4 separate regions of the Homo sapiens genome follow, and all the other regions are linked to region 2. Evidence: promoter capture Hi-C in human tissues and cell types (Jung and others, 2019). All regions are on one chromosome and are shown on one strand. Each heading gives the region's core, a stretch centred on a gene start or on the middle of the fragment in contact. The rest is flanking DNA. Distances are from core to core; before and after follow the strand shown.

Region 1 (2,700 bases), core at 131-2,630, 250 kb after region 2:
GGCATTGCTTGAGGCCAGGAGTTCAAAGCTGTAGTGTGCAATTACTATGCTGGAGAACAGCCACTGCACCCCAGCCTGGGCAACACAGGGAGACCCCCATCTCTAAAAAACCAATTATTCACTGAGCCTATGAGGTAGGAATGTCTAGTCCCAGCATATAAAAGTCTGAAAGGGTGCAAGCTGTAAGATGGGATTCTATCAACCTGGGTCAATCCTGAAGGTATGTTGGGTGGGTTGCTTCATCTGATATACTACCAGTGCTGTCACTGGTTCTACAAGTAAGGTATATGCCCCAAAGGCAGCAAGTCATAAAGCAGTGCTCAGTCTGAGTAGGATAATCATAAACATCTGTAGCACTACTTCAACATGAGGAATGTGAAACCTAAAAATAAGCAGACTGTAAAATAGCAGAACAAGACTCTAATAACCTGGCTAAGCTGGATCTTTAACACAGTATTTTAGCAAAGTGTTGTTGGCTAAAGTAAAAATGAGAAAGATCTGGATGATAAAGAAAATGATGAATACAGAAGGCAAGGACCAACTTGCAGGAAAGACTTTTCTGATAAAGGAAACGCAGCTCACAATTCAGCTTTCTATAAGCAAGAGGCATTTTTTTCTACACCTGCCCTAGAGAAGGAGTAAAACAGTTTTGTTTCTGACCATAACCATGAAGCAGGTCATAGTTTTTCTGCAACTTTTTTTTTTTTTTTTTTTTTTTGAGACAGGGTCTCACTCTGTTGCCCAGGCTGAAGCACAGTGGCAAAATCTTGGCCTACTTGCAGCCTTGACTTCCCAGGCTCAGGTGATCCTCCCACCTCAGCCTCCCAAGAAACTGGGATTAGGAGGTGTTCCACCACACCCAGATTATTTTTTGTATTTTTTTATAGAGACAGGTTTTCGCTATGTTGCCCAGGCTGATCTCCAACTCCCGGGCTCAAGCAATGTTCCCACTTCAGCCTCCCAAAGCGCTGAGATGACAGGTGTGAGCCACCATGCCTGGCCTGCAATAAAATTAAGAGGATAAATACATATCCTTTGGATATATCATTTTAGTGCATGAGTTTTTTTCTCCTTCTCTAACATAAGACATACAACTCTAGAAATAAAGCTGGGAAACTCTAGAAATAAAACCATCCATGTCTGGGAATGCAATCTGACAGGTTAAGTTTAATATGCCTTGTAAGGGCAACATCCCCTCTTCTAAAGTACTTCATACTAACCATTCACTGACCACTCTTAGGCTTCAGTAGAGACAGAGGACTCCTTAACTCCAGGCTGCCAAGCTTTGGTAAAGACAGAAATTCACAACTTGCTTTCTTCTTTTTTTTGAGACAGGGTCTTGCTCTCTCACCCGGGCTGGAGTGCAATAGTGTGATCTCGACTCTCTGAAGCCTCAAACTCCCAAGCTCAAGCGATCCTCCCACGTCAGCCTCAAGAGTAGCTGGGACTATAGGCAAGCACCACCATGCCTGGCTAATTTCTTTTTTTTTTTTTTTTTGAGACGGAGTCTCGCTCTGTCGCCTATGCTGGAGTGCAATGGCGCGATCTTGGCTCACTGCAACCTCCGCCTCCCGGGTTCAAGTGACTCTCCTGCCTCAGCCTCCTGAGCAGCTGGGATTACAGGCACGGGCCACCAAGCCCACCTAATTTTTTTGTATTTTTAGTAGAGACAGGGTTTCACCATGTTGGTCAGGCTGGTCTTGAACTCCTGAACTGAAGCGATTCACCTGCCTCAGCCTCCTAAAGTGTTAGGATTATAAGTGTAAGTCACTGCATCGGGCCCACAACTTTCATATGTCCTCCTGTTGTTATAAGCTAATAACAGTAACAGTTATATGTATAGCCTAATACATTTTTTACCTTTTTGACTCACAGAAGTGTTTTGAGAATAGATACCTTTAAATAAGAGCAATGAGATTTCTCAAAGAAAAGCTTATACCCCCAGTAGCATTTATTAACCAGACTCATGTGATCTTGACACACCAACATTTTTTCTCCATAACTCAGTACTGCTAGAACAATGTATCTTGGGGACCAACTTTTCCCAATCTAGAAATATCACTTTCTGAATTTATCCCAATATTATGAAGTATCTTCAGCTCTTGAAGACAAAACTCTGGTTCCACAATGGGCTTTATGTTGTTTTCCACTTTCTATTATAATATATTATTATCTTGCTTCTATGCAAAACTTTCTATACTGCCATCTTTATTCTGAAACCTTGCTATATAATGCTGTGAGTATTACATAACACTATAAAATAGAACCTAGTAGGGTAGGTCCAGCTTAAAGTCTATTAAGGTCTATTTTAATAACTAAGGTATCAGATATACTCAATAACAGCACATGCTCTTGAGCTCCATGGTGTAGGGCATGAAGTTGACACCTTCACATGTGCTCCTTCCACTCTTCTATCAGATAATGCCAACTTAACCAAACTCTGAACCTTGTTTTAGGAGAACCAATGTGATTACAATTTTTTAAAAAGCTTTTTATTTTGAATTAATTATTACTCACAGGATGTAAAAAATTGCACAAAAAGTCTCACATATACTTCATTTTTCTCCGATGGTGACATCTTATATAACTACGTACAGCATCAAAACCACAGAAGTGGCATTGGTACATTATTGTTAACCACAAACATTGTTAAATTTTCACCATGTTTAAAAGCTGAATTCATTTCTGTAAATATATAGT
Region 2 (2,700 bases), core at 115-2,614:
ACTTGTTAAGTCAGAAACTCTCCTTATCCTATCCCTTCTCCTATACTCTCTGTGGGCAGAGGTGACGAGGGAGCAGCAAAACACCTGCAATTGTCTGCACTAGGCCAGGTCAGGCCCTTCCTAGCTGACGACCTAGGAAGTTGGGAAGGTAAAGGGCCAATAGAGGGAACCCTCACCCCACCCTCCACCCCAACATCAGCCCTGGAGACACCCCGAGGCAGCCAATGACTCACCTCTCTGTGATCCAAACAGCTGGGAGGCAGCGATTTTATTGGACTCTAGGACTTCAAGGTACAGTGAGGACAGAAGGGGTCAGGACCACAAAAGGTGAACCAATCTCCAGAGATTCCCTGGAAAAGGGTCCAGGAGTAAGGACACCTAGGAGCCTATCAAACCGTGATAAGGCTGAGCCCAAGATCGGGTCCCCAGTGGAAGGAGGATGTGTATCTTACCACTTGTACTGAGCCCCTATTATGTCTTTGCCCCTGGCTAATAATCCATCTGTCACTCAGTGAGCATGACTCTAATTGGTTATGTGACCTCGAGAGAGCTAATCCTCCTCTCTGGGCCTGTTGCCCCTTCCATGCACTGGGGTCTAAGACCCTTCATTTTGGGTCTAGGAGTGACATCAGCTAAGGCGCTGCACACAAATCAGGGATTAGGAGGATGTTATTCTGTTAGTCCCTGGGGGCGGAGTCTGGAGCCGGAGGGAGGGGATCCCACCACCATCTGGTGCTGTCCCAACCACCTGGAGTCCCATGCAGCCCTGAACTCCTGACGACCCCCTCAACCTAGGCCCAGCAGCGCCGTCTGACTCCTTCTCAGGTTGCAAAGAGAAAGTAGGGGATCAGAGGCCTGACCCCAGCCCCTGGATAAGCCTAGGAAATCGCCGATCCCCCTGCAGCCCCCTTTGGATTGCAGCGTCTCACCCAGGGCCCAGCCCCGACACAGCGGCTACCGGGTCACGGGAGGACAAGCGACCCGAGCCTGTGGGGGCGGTACCGGCCTTGGTGACGTCTCAATGTCATATGCAAATAGAACGACGTCATGGTCTACCGGGCGTGCGGCAACCAATCGGGAGCCGGGAACGCGGCCCCGGCGGCCGCCGGCGGAGACAGACAAAGGCCCGGGCGCGGGGGGCGCAGGGCGTGTCCGTGGCAGGGGAGCCCCCAGGCCCACCCGGGTCGGGACTCACCTGGGGGCGGGAGGGGGGCGGCACGGCGTTGAGGTAGTTGTGCGGCGGGGCGTCCCAGGGTCGCCGGCCGCTCACAGGCCGGGCCGCATCGCCGGGACTCGCGGGGGAGGCGGCGGGGCCGCGGTCGCTCCGGGCTGCTGAGCTCGCCCGCGGGGCTTTGAGTCTGTGCGGCCGCTGCGGCGGGGCTCACGGCACAAATTGGAACGTTCAAACAGCTGATTGTGACGTCACAAAGGGGCCCGCCCGCCTCGCGTCACCGGCTGGCGGGGCGGCGGCCAATCCCGGGCTGCGGATCCCCCCCTGCCCCTCCCCTCCCCTCCCCTCCCGGTTTGCGGGCCGGGCGCTCGGGCCGGGAAACGTTCTCGGAACCGGGAGGGTGAGTGTTCGGGGAGGCAGCTGCGGGGAGCTGGGAGCCCTGCGCCGCGGCGAGCTCTCCGCGAGGAGGATCTCCACTCCCTCCTACCGGCTCCTTATTTTCCTGATTCTTCCCGGATCGCAGCGCCCTCACCTCTCCCACTGCTCCCCAAATCCTTTCACTGCATCCTATATCCAAGTCCCCCGATGCGGACCCTGTTCTCGACCCACACCACGTCCGTGCACCTGCATTCTCCCCACTGCCCTTATTCCTGCTCTCCCTCCCCCCTCTGGCTCACCTCCTCAGCCTTACACACTCTGCTTTCCCACCCCGTTTTTCCTCAGCTCGGCGGGCTTGAGAAAAGAGGGACATCCCCAACCCCCGGTTCCCGGGGAGCATCTGGGAATGTAGAGAAGTTAGTGAAGCTGACGTGAAATTTCGCAGAGTAGGACTTGGAGAGGAATTGCCCTGGGCTGAGTAAACATTGACCTGAGACGGCTCCGCGCTTGAACGTTTACATACCTTATTTAATCTATGTTGCTACCGGGGCTGTAAAGAAGTGGCAGGACAGGGACTGATTATGAGTCCTGATTTACACGTGGGAAAGCTGAGTCTCACAATCTCACTGTTAGCGTGTGAACTCATGTTCAACAATGCATTCAACATTTATTAGGCACCTACTATTGCACCACCATACCACTAGCTGACATGTATTGGCACACTTACTGTGTGCCACGACCTGTGCTATGGGTGTGTTTTTTTATCTTCACAACAACCCAAAAGGTAGATATTGTCCCGTTTAACAGTTGAGGAAACAGACTCAGAGAGCTCAAGTGACTTTCTTAGGTCACAAAAGTACAGTCAATGGCAGAGCCAGGATTTGAACCCATAGCTCCCAGCCCTGACCCTCTCCATTCTCTACATGAACCAGATGGTCTAAACCTCAGGGCGCTTTAGCCTCCCCAGAGTCCTGGCTTTCAGTCCTGACTGTGCCCTAGACTTGCTGTGTGACCTCAAGTCATGTTACCTCTCTGGGTCTCAGTTTGTCAAACAAACATATCCAGGCTTCCCTCTAGAGCTGCCATTGTAAGATTCTTCCACACTCTCTGCCCTCAGGATTCCACCCACCCCACGCTCTAGGCCCCAGCTC
Region 3 (2,700 bases), core at 40-2,539, 230 kb after region 2:
TCATCACAGTAACTTTGACTAGGGCATTCATTTGATTTAGAACCCATAAAAAATCATTAATTCCAGTAAATATCTATACATAAGAAATAGTTGATCACATCTGAAAAAAACACTGAATATAACATCTATGTATGGACATGTTCATGTATGTATGAACATGTATTTATCTATCAAAGTCAGTTATATCAAACGATAGATATAAAAATGGCTGGTGTCCGGGCATGCTGGTTTATGCCTGTAATCCCAGCACTTGGGGAAGATGAGGCAGGAGGATCATTTGAATCCAGGAGTTCAAAACCAGCCTGGGCAACATAAGGGGACCCTGTCTCTACTAAAAATTAGCCAGGTGTGGTGAAGTGCATCTGTAGTGTCAGCTAGCGAGAAGGCTGAGGCAAGAGGATCACTTGAGCCCAGGAGGTCAAGGCTGCAGTAAGCCATGATGGCACCACTGCACTCCAGCCTGGGTGACAGAGTGAGATCCTGTCTCAGAAAAAATAACACATAAAAATAAAGTAGCTGGTTAAAATTATATCAGAAAATGCTTTTACTTACATTTGAAGATTCCTGCAATCTGAAAGTAATGGCTACTGAGGAAAAAGTGACAATGTTTGCTTATTCAGATGGTTTCAAGTTTAATTTTCTTCTTTAAAAAAAAGAAATATATATATATATATATTTACAGAGGTAAGGCCTCAATATGTTGCCCAGACTGGTCCTGAACTCCTGAGCTCAAGTGATCTGCCCACCTCGGCCTCCCCAAGTGCTGGGATTACATGAGGTTTAATTTTCTGAATAACCAAAGTCACAAATGATCTAATTGATAAATCTATTTATTTGCTCTAAAAATAGATGAAAGAGATTCTAATGCTTCCCATTTTACCTGTTTTTCTGTGAGTTAAGTATTTTCACAATCACTGTGTAATATAAAGCAACACAACAAAGTTAAGGCAGTACAGAGATACAGTTCCAATACTAACCTGACACCAGAACCGGAAATACTGAACCTTTGCTTTGAAGTCCCGAACATAGGCTATCTGAGGTCCATTGTCTCTGAGGAAGAACAAGGGTTAACAGGACATATATAGCTGCTTGTAAAAGATAATGCTGAAGGAAAGCAAAATATCCCACCCTCTCTCAGCACTTACTAACCAAATTCAAAAATATAGCATATTCCTAACAAAACCATTCTTTGCTTTTTGAGAGATATTTCCCCAAGAATACTTTTAAGTAACAGAAAAAACAAACAAAAAACTTTGATTTTGTTGAAACTACTGTTGTGGGATTTTCTTTTCTATGCTGCCAAATCTAAGAGGGCTAAGTAAAGGGGTTTCTATCTGAGAATGCTGTCTATCCCAACATCAATTCCCTCCTTTATCTTTAAGTAAAACCCTTGCTATTTAACTAAGTAGAATGCTACATATAATAAAGACTACATTTCTCTATATGGCCATGTGACTTAAGTCTCTAAGTGAAAGTGGCATATGAAACGTTCAAGAAGGATCTTTTTGGCCAGGTGCAGTGGTTCACACCTATAAATCCCAGCACTTTGGGAGGCTGAGGCGGGTGGATCATCTGAGGTCAGGAGTTTGAGACCAGCCTGACCAACATGTTGAAACTCTGTCTCTACTAAAAATTATAAAAATTAGCCGGGTGTGGTGGCAGGTGCCTCTAATCCCATCTACTTGGGAGGCTGAGGCAGGAGAATCACTTGAACCTCAGAGGTCAAGGCTGCAGTGAGCTGAGATTGCACCACTGCACTCCAGCAAGGGTGACAAAGCTAGACTCCGTCTAAAAAAAAAAAGGAAGGATTTTCTAAAAGACAGCTAAAATAGCTAAAAAGTGTGTGAGTGTGTGTGTGTGTGTGTGTGTGTGTGTTTATAATTTGCCCTTCCTCCAAATTCCAGCCTGGAGTGTGACCCTGATAGCTTAAGTTTCAGCAGCTGTCACAGACCATGAGGTCACTTTGAAGAATGAGACCATACTCTAGGATGGTAGAAAAGACAGAAGAATTTTAGATCACTATGACACCATGGGGTTTCTCAGCTAGCCTTGGACTTAATACCACTGCATTATCTCCCTCTTAAAAATTCAATGTATATCAGTGTAGAAATACAACTGATTTTGTACATTGACTTTATATTCTGTTACGCTGTTAAATTCACTTACTAGTTCTAGTAATTTTTTCTAGATTCTTCATGATTTTCTGTATACAAACGTTATTTGTGTGAGGGGAAAAGAGACAGTTTTACTTCTTCCTTTCCAATTTATACATCTTATATTTCTTTTCTTTTCTTTCTTTTTTTTTTTGAGATGGAGTCTTGCTCTGTCTCCCAGGCTGGAGTGCAGTGGCGCAATCTCTGCTCACTGTAACCTCTGACCCAGAGGTTCAAGCGATTCTCCTGCCTCCGCCTCCTGAGTAGCTGGGATTACAGGTGCCCACCACCATGACTGACTAATTTTTGTATTTTTAGTAGAGACGGGGTTTAGCCATGTTGGCCAGGCTGGTCTCAAACTCCTGGCCTCAAGTGATCTGCCTGCCTGGGCCTCCCAAAGTGCTGGGATTACAGGCGTGAGCCACCATGCCCGGCCTGTATTTCTTTTTCTCATCTCACTGCACTGGGTAGGAATACTGACACAATGTTGAATGAAGTAATGACAGTAGATATCCTTGTCTTACTCTTGATGTTCTACGGTATTTCA
Region 4 (2,700 bases), core at 46-2,545, 130 kb before region 2:
GCACTACTGCACCCCAGCCTGGGTGACAGAGCAAGAGTCCATCTCTAAAAAAAATAAATAAAATAAAATAAAATAGCTCCTAAGTGGAAACCCACATGCTCATTAACAGTAGAATGGATAAATTATGGTGTATTCAAACAATAAAATGCTGGCCAGGTGTGGTGGCTCACATCTGTAATCCCAGCACTCTGGGTGGCAGAGGTGGGAGGATCACTTGAGCCCAGGAGTTTGAGACCAACCTGGGCAACATGGTGAAACCCCGTCTCTACAAAAAATACAAAAATTAGCATGGTGTAGTGGCATGCACCTGTGGTCCTAGCTACTAGGGAGGCTGAGGCAGAAGGATTACTTGAGCCTGGGAGGTCAAGGCTGCAGTGACCTGTGATCCCACCACTGCACTCCAACCTGGGTGACAGAGCAAGACTCTGTCTCAAAAAAATAAAAAATAAATAATGAAATGCTACCCAGCAATGAAAATGAACATGCTACAACTACATGCAACAATGTAGATGAATCTGTAAGTTTAACTCCTGGTGAGACTAATCTATGGAGTTAGAAGTTAAAATACTGTTTAACCTTGGGGGCTGTGGGTAATGACTGGAAGGGGCTTCTGTGGGGCTGAATGTTCTATTTCTTGATTTGGGTGTTTGTTAGACATGTGTGTTGGCTTTGTGGAAATTCAACAGGCTTTACACTTACGATTTCTGTACTTTTATGTCTTTATATTATACTCTAATAAAAAGCTTTAAAATTTCAGAATATTTTTGAAAACAGTTTTTTTTTTCTCCCCCACCCCCACCTTTTTGTGTATGTATGGTCACTTGATATTCTTCCACTTTTTAAAATTGTGTAATTATTAGTCTATTTCTTCTATTTTTTCAATGATTTTTTTCCTGAAGAGCAAGCCATGGCTTGCCCATAGTAAGCCCCCACCCCACCACCGCTTTTTTTTTTTTTTTTTTGAGATAGAGTCTCACTCTGTCATCCAGGCTGGAGTGCAGTGGTGCAGTCTCAGCTCACTGCAACCTCTGCTTCCCAGGCTCAAGTGATCCTCCCATCTCAGCTTCCCATGGAGCTGGGACTACAGGCATGATGCACCACCACGATTGGCTAATTTCTGTATTTTTTTGTAGAGACGGGGTTTTGCCATGTTGCCCTGGCTGGTCCCTAATTCCTGGGCTGACACAATCCACCTACCTCCACCTCCGAAAGTGCTGGGATTACAGGCATGAGCCACTGCGCCTCGCCATAGCATGTCTTTATGCAAAGCACAAGTGACCCCCTCCTCAAGGCATTTTATTTCCATATATCTGAAAATTGTTACAACGAACAGATTCTGAAATAACAAGGCATTTTACTGCCATCTACTGGTAAATTATCATAATAAATTTGCAAATTATAATGTCATGTGAATGGTGTCCACTTAAAAGTGATATCCTTCAAGACTAGTGAACAATACAGTCAGGATGGCTAGAAGTGACCCCAGGAAACTAAGGGGCAAGATGTCTGCTTTTGCCTTCTTTGTGCAGACGTGCAGAGAAGAGCATAAGAAAAATCCAGAGGTCCCTGTCAATTTTGCAGAATTTTCCAAAAAGTGCTCTGAGAGGTGGAAGACAATGTCTGGGAAAGAGAAGTCTAGGCTGGGCACGGCGGCTTACGCCTGTAATCTCAGCACTTTGGGAGGGTGAGTTGGGTGGATCACCTGAGGTAAGGAGTTTGAGACCAGCCTGGCCAACATGGTGAAACCTCGTCTCTACTAAAAATACAAAAAACTAGCCGGGCGTGTTGGTGGGCGCCTGTAATCCCAGCTACTGGGGAGGCTGAGGCAGGAGAATGGCTTGAACCCAGGAGGCAGAGGTTGCGGTGAGCTGAGATCGTGCCACTGCACTCCAGCCTGGGCAATAAGAGCAAAACTCCATCTCAGAAAAAAAAAAAGAGAGAGAGAGTCTAAATTCGATTAAATGGCAAAGGCGGATAAAGTGCACTGTGATAGAGAAATGAAGGATTATGGACCAGCTAAGGGAGGCAAGAACGATCCTAATGCCCCCAAAAGGCCACTGTCTGGATTCTTCCTGTTCTGTTCAGAATTCTGCCCCAAGATCAAATCCACAAACCCTGGCATCTCTATTGGAGACGTGGCAAAAAAGCTGGGTGAGATGTGGAATAACTTAAATGACAGTGAAAAGCAGCCTTATGTCACTAAGGTGGCAAAGCTGAAGAAGTATGAGAAGGATGTTGCTGACTATAAGTCGAAAGGAAAGTTGGACGGCACAAAAGGTCCTGCTAAAGTTGCCTGGGAAAAGATGGAAGAAGAAGATGAAGAAGATGGGGAGGAAGAGAAGGAGGATGAATAAATAAACTGTTTGCCTATAAAAAAAAAAGGTGATATCCTTCTGCAGGGCAAAATTCATCCAACTAAATGTGGTAAGTTTGTCATTTGGCACTGTTGTGACGAACCCTGCAGACAGTAAAATGTTGACACTTTCTAGATGGTTTTGTTCTTTCTTTTTTCCCCTGTTTTATTATTGTTTTTCTTAAAGACATCATTGAAGTATTCACTGTCAGTCTTATCACTGCAGAGCTTGAGCCTGTTTGGACACACATGAAAGTAGAAGTCCAATAAATACAAATCAAATTATCAAAGAACAATTGATTTGCTTTTTCTTCACTCTAGTCCAAATCTAGAACAATCCTGGATGT

Evidence for each region. The method cuts DNA at HindIII sites, captures the fragments that hold promoters and counts their contacts. A contact is called where the count stands out against the background at its distance.
Region 1: a fragment that was not itself captured here is called in contact with the fragment with the promoter of TP53INP2 in region 2 in 4 of the 25 tissues and cell types used here (dorsolateral prefrontal cortex, lymphoblastoid cells, mesenchymal stem cells and 1 more).
Region 3: a contact is called between a fragment that was not itself captured here and the fragment with the promoter of TP53INP2 in region 2, in 2 of the 25 tissues and cell types used here (mesenchymal stem cells and spleen).
Region 4: a fragment that was not itself captured here is called in contact with the fragment with the promoter of TP53INP2 in region 2 in 2 of the 25 tissues and cell types used here (mesenchymal stem cells and thymus).

Annotation. Positions count from the first base shown.
Region 1 is chr20:34,450,088-34,452,787 of GRCh38, reverse strand. The region is part of intron 12 of ITCH (itchy E3 ubiquitin protein ligase); the gene reads right to left. Among named protein-coding and RNA genes, the nearest start is that of MIR644A, 15 kb to the left of the region's middle. The HindIII fragment of the contact is 3,166 bases long and covers 1-2,700 here.
Region 2 is chr20:34,703,008-34,705,707 of GRCh38, reverse strand. TP53INP2 (tumor protein p53 inducible nuclear protein 2) reads right to left here and starts at 1,364. Exons shown (of 5, transcript NM_021202.3): 1 at 1,196-1,364; 2 at 234-350. LOC105372599 (a long non-coding RNA gene) reads left to right here and starts at 1,526. Exons shown (of 2, transcript XR_936690.3): 1 at 1,526-1,571; 2 at 1,895-2,049. RefSeq lists a silencer at 1,089-1,568. The HindIII fragment of the contact is 10,895 bases long and covers 1-2,700 here.
Region 3 is chr20:34,468,398-34,471,097 of GRCh38, reverse strand. ITCH (itchy E3 ubiquitin protein ligase) reads right to left here. Exons shown (of 25, transcript NM_031483.7): 15 at 978-1,050. Among named protein-coding and RNA genes, the nearest start is that of MIR644A, 3.4 kb to the right of the region's middle. The HindIII fragment of the contact is 6,936 bases long and covers 1-2,700 here.
Region 4 is chr20:34,833,229-34,835,928 of GRCh38, reverse strand. It overlaps the pseudogene HMGB3P1. Among named protein-coding and RNA genes, the nearest start is that of NCOA6, 8.9 kb to the right of the region's middle. The HindIII fragment of the contact is 6,602 bases long and covers 1-2,700 here.